Linked DNA regions of Homo sapiens: region 1 is linked to region 2. Evidence: promoter capture Hi-C in human tissues and cell types (Jung and others, 2019). All regions are on one chromosome and are shown on one strand. The core of a region is centred on a gene start or on the middle of the fragment in contact, and the rest is flanking DNA. Distances in the headings are between cores, read along the strand shown. Region 1 overlaps DPF2 (double PHD fingers 2). Region 2 holds the start of SPDYC (speedy/RINGO cell cycle regulator family member C).

Evidence for each region. The method cuts DNA at HindIII sites, captures the fragments that hold promoters and counts their contacts. A contact is called where the count stands out against the background at its distance.
Region 1: a fragment that was not itself captured here is called in contact with the fragment with the promoter of SPDYC in region 2 in 2 of the 25 tissues and cell types used here (dorsolateral prefrontal cortex and spleen).

What each region holds. Positions count from the first base shown.
Region 1 is chr11:65,342,388-65,348,149 of GRCh38, reverse strand. It overlaps DPF2 (double PHD fingers 2), which reads right to left. Exons shown (of 11, transcript NM_006268.5): 5 at 4,313-4,405; 6 at 4,081-4,159; 7 at 2,347-2,484; 8 at 2,092-2,220; 9 at 1,791-1,903. Among named protein-coding and RNA genes, the nearest start is that of TIGD3, 9.5 kb to the left of the region's middle. The HindIII fragment of the contact is 7,351 bases long and covers 625-5,762 here.
Region 2 is chr11:65,167,529-65,174,137 of GRCh38, reverse strand. SPDYC (speedy/RINGO cell cycle regulator family member C) reads right to left here and starts at 3,905. Exons shown (of 7, transcript NM_001008778.3): 1 at 3,877-3,905; 2 at 2,639-2,811; 3 at 2,137-2,195; 4 at 1,807-1,892; 5 at 1,533-1,704; 6 at 1,124-1,454; 7 at 764-955. The coding sequence starts at 2,780. The coding sequence ends at 921. It also overlaps the pseudogene PGAM1P8. The HindIII fragment of the contact is 3,474 bases long and covers 2,835-6,308 here.

The sequences.
Region 1 (5,762 bases), core at 3,051-5,550, 170 kb before region 2:
CACACCTGGCTAAGTGTTTATTTTTTTTGTGGAGACAGGATCTCCCTATGTTGCTCAGGCTGGTCTTGAATTCCTGGGCTCAAGTGATCCTCCCGCCTCAGCCTCTCAAGTGTTAGGATTACAGGCATGAGCCTCCATCCTTGTCCCTACAGTCTACCCTCCACACGGCACCCAAAGTCATCTTTTTAAAATATAAGACAAGGGCCAAGCACGGTGGCTCACACCTGTAATACCAGCATTTTGGGAGGCTGAGGCAGGTGGATCACCTGAGGTCAGGAGTTGAAAACTAGCTTGGCCAACATGGTGAAACCCCGTCTCTACTAAAAATTAGCCAGGCGTGGTGGCGGGCGCCTGTAATCCCAGCTACCTGGGAGGCTGAGACAGGAGAATTGCTTGAACCTGGGAGGCAGAGGTTGCAGTGAGCCGAGATTGCGCCATTGTACTCCAGCCTGGATGACAAGAGTAAAACTCCATCTTGAAATAAATAAATAAATATAAAATAAAATATAAGACAAGGCCAGACATGGTGGGTTCATGCCTGTAATCCCAGCACTTTGAGAGGCCAAGGTGGGAGGACTGCTTGAGCTCAGGAGTTTGAGACCAGCTCAGCAATATGGCAAGACCCTGTCTCTACCAAAAATATAAAAAAGTAGCCAGACATGGTGGTGTGCATCTGTGGTCCCAGCTACCCGGGAGGCTGAGGTGGGAGGATTGTACTGCTTGAGCCTGAAGGGAAAGGTTTTAGTGAGCTAAGATCGCGTCACTGCACTCCAGCCTGGATGACAGAGAGACTCTGTCTCAAAATAAATAAATAAATACATAAAGAATAAATAAATAGCTGGGTGCAGTGGCTCACGCCTATAATCCCAGCACTTTGGGAGGCTGAGGCAGGCGGATCACCGGAGGTCAGGAGTTCGATACCAGCCTGGCAAACATGGAGAAACCCCATCTCTACTAAAAATACAAAATTAGCCGGGTGTGGTGGCACGTGTCTGTAATCCCAGCTACTTGGGAGGCTGAGGCAGGAGAATCACTTGAACCCAGGAGGCAGAGGTTGCAGTGAGCTGAGATTGTGCCACTGTACTCCAGCCTGGGCGACAGAGCAAGACTCCATCTCAAAAAAAAAAAGTAAATAAATAAATACATAAATAACCATGTCACTTCCCGAGTAAAACCCTTCAACAGTGTCCTGTTGTACCTAGAATAAAACCCGAGGCCCCAGAGATCTGGCAGTGCTTGCCTCTCTCATCTCATTGCCCACCATACTCTCCCATGCCCTGTCATCTGGCTTGTCCAACATAAGGCCTTGGCGCTGGCTGCTCCTTTCCTGGGATTCCTCTACCTCCAAATCTTGACTGGCTCCTTGGTATCACCAAAATTTCAACACCAGCATCACCCTCCCAGAAGAGCCATACCTGACCATCAAAATAAATCACTTATGCAATTATTCTCTGCCACAGTACTGATTTCGTTTTTTTCATGGCACATTATACAAATCTCATTTACATCCTTGCTTATTGTTGTTCCTGTAAGAATGTAAATCTCATGAGGCAGGGACCTTGTTTGTCTTTAGCATCTTTAGTGACTAGAACAGTGTCTGACATAAAATCAGCACTCAATATATATCTGGCAACAAATCAGAGTTCTGACTGAGATGCTAGGGAGGGGCGTGTGGCATGTGGGAGGGATCCTGCTCCCTTTTTAAAAGAAAGCTCACTTTAGAGGGAACTGTGCAAACAGCAGTAAAAGCCCAGAAGGAGCCATGCTGAGGAGGGGGCGGGGATACACACGTCATTCTCGGAGGTGCCGCAGATATTGCAACATTTGCACTCGATGCACTGCCAGCGGTATGTCTTCACTGCCGCCATCATCACGGGGGTAAATTGGAGGCAAGATGGATGCCCTGTAGTGGGGGAAGTGAGTGAGACAGACAGTCGGAAATGCGGGGGGAAGAGAGGAGCTCCTGCCTGTGGCTACATCTTCTCTTGGTTAGGAAAAGCGAGGTGGGCTGGTTATGACAGCCCTAGAGGCCAGCAAGCCAAGAGCCCCTTGGGGACTGGGCAAAGCAGCAGCCTTCACGGGAAGCAGTACCTGAGCGGCCACAGTCAGAACAGGACACCAGCTCCTCGGGTTGTCCCGTCTTCTTGTTAATCTTTGAGTCCCCCAGGCAGAAGTCACAGTAGTTGTTGGGCAAGGCCAATCCATCAGGACCCTTTTTGGCTACAGAGAGAAAGAGTTTTGATGACACCCATGGGGGTCCCTGAGCCACTCAACACCCATGCAAGGAGTGGTTTTCATAACCAGGCCAACTTCTGCTTGCCCACCACTTCTGACACCTCAGCTTACATTTCTGCTCCTCAGACCTCTGGGAAACAGGAGTGGGTGGTTGAGAGTCTTCCTTGTCCTCGCCCTCCTCCTCAGCCAAGTGGGAGTGGGCATAGTGGTAACTGAGGCCTGGTCGGTTCTTGTAACGTTTTCCACAAACTGAGTGGGAAGAAGATTGCAGAGAAAGGTGTTAGGATACAAGAGTGCCATGTCCCCATCCCTGCAAGCTGTGGGGGCTCCACCTGAGGCAGAGGGCAACCATCCCTTCCCCTAGCAGCTCCACTCTGGGACAGGCCTTGAGTGACGGCCACTTCCCCTCAGCCAGGAGCATCAGGCCGTGGGGCTCTCTAGCTTCTGGGGCTCTTTTCCCTCCTGAACTCCAACCCCATGGCCACCACTGCTCTTCCATGTTGACTTTTGGGGGGCTTAGCCCTTGCCCCATCACCAGTTAGTTGCTCTGGGATATACTAACAGTCTGGGACGCTCCAGGTCAGGAAAGGGAAGGATATTCCTATATCTTTGGGGTGGCAGGAAGGGGGAAAAGTGGATAAGACTCCAAACTTTTTTACCCCTCAGTAAATGTGGGAGGCTCATGCTACCCCACACACCATGGAGCCCATCTCCCCTGAATGTGGGTAAACAAGCAGGGGATGGGTTTCTTGGGGATAGCCTATCAATGAAGCCAGTTGGGCAGTTGGTCCCCAAAGAAATTCAAGCACACTCCCATGTAATTGCCCTGTCCAGGCCTGCCAATCAGCAAGGAAAGCAGATCCCCATGAGGCATTTTGTCATCTTGAGAAGTAATACCAAGAAGGGCAAGGGGGCCAGCAGGAAAGGAGTGGGGAGAGAGGATGGCAGGAGGAGGTGGTGGGGCAGTGGGGAACATGAGCTGACCACCAGCTGCCTGGTCTGGGGAGGGAGCGGAAGGGTCTGATTGTAATGGGCTCCTGATAATGCTTCTGAAGCCACCCCATGCACTGGGCCGAGCAGCTCTAGGAGCAGGTTTGTGGGAAACAAGCAGTGGTAAAGGCAGCCTTCAGGACTTTGAGGAGTAGAGCACAGCAGAAATTCCACTGCTCCTACCCCCATGCCATTCCAGAGATTTTAAAGCTAGCATCCCAGGAAATGAGAAAGGCAGGAGGAACAAGGGAAGAGGGAAAAAGGGAAAGGAAAACCACAAGTCTGAAAAGTTGAGAGAGCTACCTCTCTGGGGCGCTTTCGAGGTATGCTTTTGTTTGAAACTATCTGAAAGACAGAAAGAAAAGTCATGAGAAGAAGGCCTTGATACACTTGAGACAGGAGCAGCAGCAGCAGGAAAGCAGAGCAAACGAGAGAGAAACCCCAGCGGCGATGGTGCTCCCAGGGTGGAGGGACAGAAGTGGGGCAAGGCAGACAGAAAGAAAAAGAGAACAGACGTTGAAAAACTCAGTGTCAGACCCCTGGGGCCCTGGCTTAACTGAGGCCAGGAGACCTGCAGGCCATCTGTTGAGAGGCCAACCCTGCCTGCTGTGGCCCCCACAAGCAACCCTACCCCAGAGGATGGCAGAAATCTTTCCCAGAGCATGCAGGTCCCACCCGTCATATAGCAGGGACCCAGGCCTCCCAGGGGTCTCAGACGGAAGCAGTCAGCAGGCAGGACAAGAGCCCAGGTTTGTTTTAATACTCTGGGCAAAAACACAACCCTCCCTCCTCTCATATCCAGAGCAGGAGCTGGGTCCAAGGCAAGGTCTACCCACCCACTTGTGAGGCACTCACTGTCACAGGCATAGGGCTTATCCCGGTCCTCCAGGATGGAAGCATCCAGCTTCTTACGGGCACTGCCCACACCCTTACCCTGCCAAGAAGAGCAAAGAGACACCCTTATTTTGGTAGCTGGGCCTGAGGAGTTAGACTCTTTTGGAAGTGGCCGCTAATCTCACTTGAAATAAAATAAGGAATTCCCTAGGCCACCCTGTCCCAAGATGCAGGCAGCACGCTGGCCCCTCACCTTGGATTTCCCCTTTCCCCGACGCTTGGGAGTATCTTCTTCATAGTCTTCATCATCGAGGTCATCCAGGAAGTCATCTGGTTCTAGGATCCGCTGAGTGGACAGGAGGGTTAGCATGGGTAGAAATATGTGCATCCAAAAGCTCCCCTATGATGAGACTGGCCAAGGCCACCCAGAACCTCCTCTGTGACGTGGTCCCACCCACACCAGCCTCATTCCTCACCAACGCCTTTCAAGCATGCTATAATCCTGCTCCTGCTCCCTTCCATACTTTGGGATATCTTTCCCCTGTGCTTCACGTTATTTCCTTAGCCTGAAATGCTTTCCCCACCATGCCACATGGCCAAATCAAATAGCATGCTTCCAAAAGGTTGCCCTGATGCCACAAGCAGCCATGCCCTCTCCTGCCTCTGATTGGCCACCCTGGGAGCACATTATTGGTGGTTCTGTCCTGACACTCGCCTCCTAGTTTAAATTAAAATGTTGTTGCTTATTTGTGTGACCTTGTGGGAAGCTTTTTTTTTTTTTTTTTTTTTTTGAGACAGAGTTTCGCTCTTGTTGCCCAGGCTGGAGTGCAATGGCGCAATACTGGCTTACCGCAACCTCCGTCTCCTGGGTTCAAGCGATCCTCCTGCCTCAGCCTCCCAAGTAGGTGGAATTACAGGCATGCGCCACCACACCTGATTAATTTTGGATTTTTAGTAGAGACGGGGTTTCTTCATCTTGGTCAGGCTGGTCTCGAACTCCCGACCTCAGGTGATCCAACTGCCTCGGCCTCCCAAAGTGCTGGGATTACAGGCGTCAGCCACCGTGGCCGGCCATGGGAAGTTTTTTTTTTTTTTTTGAGATGGAGTCTCGTTCTGTCACCTAGGCTGGAGTGCAGTGGCGCAATCTCGGCTCACTGCAAGCTCTGCCTCCCGGGTTTGCGCCTGAGTAGCTGGGACTGCAGGTGCCCACCACCACGCCTGGCTAATTTTTTTTGTATTTTTAGTAGAGACGGGGTTTCACCATGTTAGCCAGGATGGTCTCGATCTCCTGACCTCAAGATCCGCCTGCCTCGGCCTCCCAAAGTGCTGGGATTACAGGCGTGAGCTACCGTGCCCGACCCATGGGAAGTTTTTAAACTGCTTTGTTTCAGCCTCTGTGTGAAATGGGGAACACAGGACCTACCCCATAAGGTTGTACAGACTAAAGGAGAAAGGGCATGAAAAGGCACTTAACCCAATGCTGGCATATTTATAGCTGTTATTTTTACATGTATTCTTATCTTCTCTGTTGGCAGAGACTAAGTGTGCTTCACTGTGTAACCTCAGGGACCAAAAAACTGTGACACAAACTTTTGTGATAAAAGAGTAAAGCACTTAGGGATAAAAGTTTGTTTCCCTCCCTTCCCAGACAGGGTCTCCCTCTGTTACCCAGGCTGGAGTGCAGAGGCATAAGCAGAGCTACA
Region 2 (6,609 bases), core at 2,656-5,155:
TGATGTGAAAAAAAAAAAAAAGAAAGAAAAAAAGAAATTAACCCTTTTGAGTCCTCATGTCTCTTGGGGGAGGGGGGTTGTTTATTATAATTACAATATTATATTTGACTGTAGCTCAAGGAAGGGATCAAGTCTTATTCCTAAGTAAACCTGGCCCTGAAGGCATTTCTAGACTAAATAAAGAGCTGTCTTCCATTCAAGTTTTGTTTCCCAATATGTTCCTGGCCTTTTTTTTTTTTTTTTTTGAGACAGAGTCTCACTCTGTCGTCCAGGCTGGAGTGCAGTGGCATGATCTCAACTCGCTGTAACCTCCGCCTCCACAGTTCAAGCAATTCTCCCACCTTGGCGTCCCGAGTAGCTGGGATTATAGGCACCTGCCACCATGCCTGGCTAGTTTCTGTATTTTTAGTAGCAAAGGGGTTTCACCATGTTGGCCAGGCTGTTTTTGAACTCCTGACCTCAAGTGATCCACCCGGCTCAGCCTCCCAAAGTGCTGGGATTACAGGTGTGAGCCACCACGTTCGGCTCCCTGGCCCTCTTCTAAGGGCTGCAGATACCTCATCTCATTTAATCCCATCTAGACTGTGTAGATCTCATCATCCATAGGCATGGATAGCACAGAGATGAAACTGAGGCTCAGAATAACTGGCCACCAATGGGAAGGGGCCAAGCTGTTACAGAGCCTGTGCTCACATGTTGTAACCCTGGTAGATACCCCCTCCCCACCCCAACCTTGGGTCAAGGAACCAGGCCAGGACCTAAGCACAGTTGGTGTCCTGTGGACATGAATTTATTAGAGGGGACTGGCACCAGAGTGGGCACAAGCTGCAGGCTGGGAGGAAGGGGCAGGGGTGGGAGCACAGCCAATGGTGTGTCAGTCAGTGGGCCAGCAGGCGTGCTGTTCTTCACCCTGCAGAGCTTCAGTGCCCAGGGCGTGCCGGAGGCTTTGGGAAGACTGGGGAGAGGAAAGAGTGAGGCTCAGAGAAGAAACCTGCCAAGCTCACACGGGAGGGGCAGCACGTCGACCCCAGGCCCATGGCCCTCTCTCTCATATTGTTGGTCCTCACTCCTGCCTCCCAAGCTCCCACACCAGCCCCCAGCTCCTGTCCCATCCTGCACTCACTGCGGAGGGAGTAGGTGCCTGGTTCCAGTTGCATCTGGGGAGGCAAGACGATGAGAAAGTCCCCACCCCAGGCGTTTTTGACCCTTGAGAGATAATTTTGGGAGGGAGGGCGATGACATTCAGAGGTCAGAGAAGGGCACTTGGATGACACAGGCTTAAGCAAGTGGCTGCTGCAGTGCTGGGGCAAACCACAGGGGGAACAGTGGGGCGGCGAGAGGCCAGGGCCCCGGGGAAGGCGAACAGGGACCTGTGGACAGACCCTCTGAACCCCACCATGGTGGGGGCGCCGGTCCCGAGTCCAAGCCCAGTGGAATGGCTCCTTTGCCATGACCTGGGAGGAGCAGAGTGGACAGTAAATGGGGTGGGAACCCCAGCCTTCCCCACACCCCAGGTTGCCTCCCAGCCTCACCTCCTCACAGCACTGGCGGCTCACAACAGCCCGGAAACCCATCCGTGCCCAAAGCTTATCCCTCTGGTGCAGGAATTTCCCCACTCGTAAACACCAATCTTTTCCCAGGGCCCATGGAAAAATCTCACATTTGGGGCCCTCCAGGTCCTCCTCCATGTCGTTTGCAAGGTACCTAGCCACAGAGGCACAAGGTCAGGGAGCAGAGGCCACACATCTGCCCTGTCCCATCTGACACCTCCAGCAAATGCCTCCACTGCCTGCCCCCACCACTCACAGGGCCAAGAACAGGCTGCTGTGGGTATACTCGCTGAGCTTCAGGTGGGCGCGCTGGAAGTAGACCAGCACCATGGCCAGGAGATACTGCAGAGACAGATCGGGGTGGGGGGTTAGTTATTCTCTGAGGAGGAGGGGCTTGCACCCAGGTTCATTTGCACCCAGGGAGGTTTTGCTGCAGGGAAAGAAAGTCAGTAAAATGGTGGGAAGTGGTGTGCAAAGATGAGGGGGTAAGGATGGAAGGTGAGTGGCTCTCCCTACCAGACCAGGGCACTCAATTCCCACCAACTCAACCTGACCCTCAAGAGACCCCCAGCCTGTACTCCCTCACCTTATCTGAAATCTGGAAGCAGGGGTCTTTGGAGAGGAATTCCTGGACAAAACTGTCCTCTGAGGGTAGAGAAGACATGACAGGACGCAGGTTACCACCACCTCCATGGAGAAGAGTGGCATCAGAAGCTCCAAAGCCCAAGCCACCACTGAACCCTCTCTCTCTTTCTCTTTTTCTCCCTTTTTCTCTTTCTCTCTCTCTTTCTTAATATAAATAGAAATGGAGTCTCACTATGTTGACCAGGCTGGTCTTGAACTCCTGGCCTGAAGTGATACTCCCATTTCAGCCTCCCAAAATGTTGGGATTATAGGTATGACTCACGGTGCCTGGCCCTGAATCCAGTTTCTGAGAGGACACCCCTCCCACCTGCCTAAGCTGGGATACCTGAGAGGGAGAGGGTCAGAGGTCTCAGATGTCTGTACAGGCAGGTGAGACCCCACACTTCACATCTGCTTTCACACTTGACCTCACGGCCCCTCCCGTGCCAGCCCTCCAAACTCACCCAGAAGGCTGAGGAAGGCCTGGACCTCCTGGTGCTGGCGAAAACGGAGGAACCCATTGCCCCCACCTTGCCGGCTGCAGCCCCCCAGCTCTACCTGGGTGGTAACTACAGGGGAAGTGGTGGGGTCTTGGGAGTCACTCATCTCATAGGAGATGGAGATGGGGCAGGGTGACCTGTAGAGAAAGGAGGCTCAGGACTTAGCATGTACCCCCGTGATGCTCACAAATCAAGAGGGTGGTGACAGGGGCCAGGACGGTGGAGGGGTGGGTGCAGAGACTTGGGGGCTCAGAACAGAAGGCAGCCGGGATGCAACAAGAGTGGGGAGGCCAGAAAAGAAGCAAAGAGTTGCTATAGGTGAGGGTGTGGCACCCTCACCCTCCTCCTGGCACCCCAGGACAGGCCAGAGTAACAGCAGCAACAAGCACCGCTGAGGGCTTCCTAAGTGCCTGGGGCTGTGCTTAAGGGCCTTATCTTATTCCATCCTGGTAAGGAGGTAAGTTTAACTCAGACCGGTCGTCAAACGAGGAAACTGAAGCTGAGGCCTAACAGCCGGTTAAAAGTGAAGCCCTTGGTCTCCAAAACCCCAAGAGGTTTTTTGGTTTTTGTTTGTTTGTTTTGAGACACAGTCTCTCTCTGTCGCCCAGACTGGAGTGCAGTGGCGCGATCTCGGCTCACTGCAACCTCCGCCTCCCGGGTTCAACTGATTCTCCAGCCTGAGCCTCCCGAGTAGCTGGGATTACAGGCATGCGCCATGCCACCACGCCCGGCTAATTTTTTTTGTATTTTTTTGGTAGAGACAGGGTTTCACCGTGTTGGCCAGGCTGGTCTCACACTCCTGACCTCCCAAAGTGCTGGGATTGCAGGCGTGAGCCACTGCGCCTGGCCAAAAAAAAAGAAAAAAAAAACCCAAGAGTTTAACTGCTCCTCTAGGCCCCAACTCACAACCACCCCCGACCCCTCACCAAAGCAGAGTTGAAAGGGCCACTGATCCCTTACACCGAGGGGAAACTGAGGCCCTCAGGGAGGAATGAAATTAGAAAAATACCTGGATTTAGAGCAAGTTGATGGGGCCACTTCAAACATTTCAAGCTCCCGTCCTAAACCCACCCTCATCCCTGAGAGAGAGAAGCCAACCACGGGGCCGAGGAGAACGTGCGGTCGACCACCCCAGGGCCAATCTGGGCCCCTCCATCTAGGCGCCCGCAAGCAACCCAGCCTCCTCCTGCAGCGAGCCTTACCCGAGCTCAGGAATGGCCCAGAGCATAACACCAACGCCGCCGCGAGTGCGCTTATATAGCCTGAGGGCGGCCCTGCCCAAAGCAGCCCGTCCACCAATCAGGGCCTTCCTGGGGGGCGAGGCTTGGCCTTCACCGCCTGCCTCTCTGCCAGTGAGTCCAGTCGGCACCCAGCTGTGGCTCCCCAGGGTTTGAAAGCCTCTCCAAAGCTTCATCAACTACAAGAGGGGTGAAGGCAGGCCAGCTGGACCCCAGGGCCTAAGGCCCCATAGGACAGGCAGGGAGCTAGGATCCCTGTTCCCCTCTTGACAAATGCAGCGCCAAGGTGCTGAGCCGGGATATGAGACCCGGACTGCGAGGGCCTGGTGGGCGAGTTTTTTTTCATTGATTGTGCCTTGCTAGGGCAGGGTCTCTGGCTCTCTATGGGTGTCTCTGAATCTCCTGGCCTCCTTGAGTCTCTAGGTTTCACTGAGGCCCCCCGAGTCTCTCTTTTGTTTCTTATTTTATTTTTCCCCTCGTAACACAGAACAAGCTGCCTGGGTCTCAGTGGGCCTCTGAGTCTCTCAGTTTCTTGTTGCCTCTGGTGTCTGGATGTCTGTGGATCTCTGGGTCCTTTGTTTTCTCTCTGATCTCTGGTCTCTGGTGTATCTGCTGTTTCATGGTCTCCCCCAGGCCGCCTCCCAGGCTCCCTGAGGCCGTGAAGGCCTTTCTAGACCAGCTGGTCTGCATCAGGCCATCCTGTTTGTGTGTGTGCACGCATTTGAAGTCGGCCTCCCCTAGAAAGGAAGTAGTGAGTGGGGCAGCATCCATAGCCCGTTCACTAAACACCTACTGCTGCCTACTGAGGAGTCTGTGATGGAATCAGCTCACGTGTTCCTCACAGCAAGCCCGTGAAGTTGATGAGAATGATGAGAAGCCTCATTTTGTCAGCGAACAAACAACTAACACACAGAGTTTGGGTTGCTGACCGACAGGCTGAGTAACTTCCTGCCAGCCACTCAGCTGGTAAGTAGAGATAGAGTTCCAGCCTGGCTGCTGGGCCCACACGCTGGGTAGCCTGGCTGTGTGGTCTACAGCTGTTCCTGGACGCTGCCTGCACAGAGAAGGTGTTCCATGAAACCGAATGAATCTCCTAGACCAGCTGTGTTTTCAACTGTTCTCCTCCTCCCCCAGTAATTAAGGTTAGAGATCAGGAAGGTGTACCAAAAAGAAGCCTGGGAGTGGGCTAGTCACTTTAACTTTGGGAGGGCCTTCAGGCTGATTTCCTTCAGTGCCACCCCTGGAGATCTGACACCGATCTCCCACACTGGGGAGAATATTTGTTTTTACTTTTTTTTTTTTTTTTTTTGAGACGGAGTCTCGCTGTGTTGCCCAGGCCGGAGTGCAGTGGCCCAATCCCGGCTCCCTGCAACTTCCACCTCCAGGGCTCAAGCAATTCTCCTGCCTCAGCCTCCCGAGTAGCTGGGACTACAGGCATGTGCCGCCATGCCTGGCAATTTTTTTGTTTTGTTTTGTTCTCCTGACCTCATGATCCACCCGCCTTGGCCTCCCAGAATGCTGGGATTACAGGCATGAGCCACCATGCCCAGCCTTTCTCTTTCACTTTTCAGAATCCCATGATTCACTGGGCTCTTCAATCTGCCCAGATAATCTCCCCATCTCAAGATCCTTAACTTGGCTGGGAGAGGTGGCTTACCCCTGTAATCCCAGCATTGTGGGAGGCAGAGGAGAGCAGATCACCTGAGGTCAGGAGTTCAAGACCAGCCTGGTAAACATGGCAAAACCCCTCCTCTACTAAAAATACAAAAATTAGCGGGGCATGGTGGTGCATGCCTGTAATCCTAACTACTCGGGAGGCTGAGGCAGGAGAATTGCTTGAGCCCTGGGGGTGGAGGTTGCAGTGAGCTGAGATCATGCCATTGCACTCCAGTCTGGGCAACAGAGCAAGACTTGGTCTCAAAAAAAGATCCTTAACCATCTGCAAAGTCTTTTTTGCCATGTGAGATAACATATTCTCAGGTCTGGGAAGTGAAATGTAGCCATCTTTGGGAGTCCATTATTCTGCCTGCTACAATTATCACAGCAAAATTTATTCTATGCTAACTAATATACTATTTATAAAATTTATATTCATGTAAATGTATATATAATTTGTAAAATCATATATTAATATTGCATGCTATAAAGGATACACGTAAAAGGATATAAAAGAATACACATAAAACATAATAACATACTACCAGCTCAAAAAATATATATATGGCCAGGTCCATTGGCTCACGCCTATAATCTCAGCACTTTTTGGAGGCCGAGACAGGAGGATCATTTGAGTTCAGGAGTTAGAGACTAACCTGGGCAATACATCAAGGCCCCATCTCTACCAAAAATAAACTAGCCTGGCATGGTGGCACGTGACTGCAGTCCTATCTACTCAAGAGGCTGAGGTGGGAGGATCACTTGAGCCCAGGAGTTCAAGGCTGCAGTGAGCTATTATCATGCCATTCTACCCAGCCTGGGTGACACAGCAAGACCCTGTCTCTAAAACATGAATAAATAAATAAATAAGAATATTAAAAATTTCAAAATATAAAGATAGAAAAAATAATATGCAATTACTAAAAGAAAGCTGGGATAACTACACTAATATATTAAAACAACTTTAGGCCGGGCGCGGTGGCTTATGCCTGTAATCCCAGCACGTTGGGAGGCCGAGGCAGGTAGATCATTTGAGGTCAG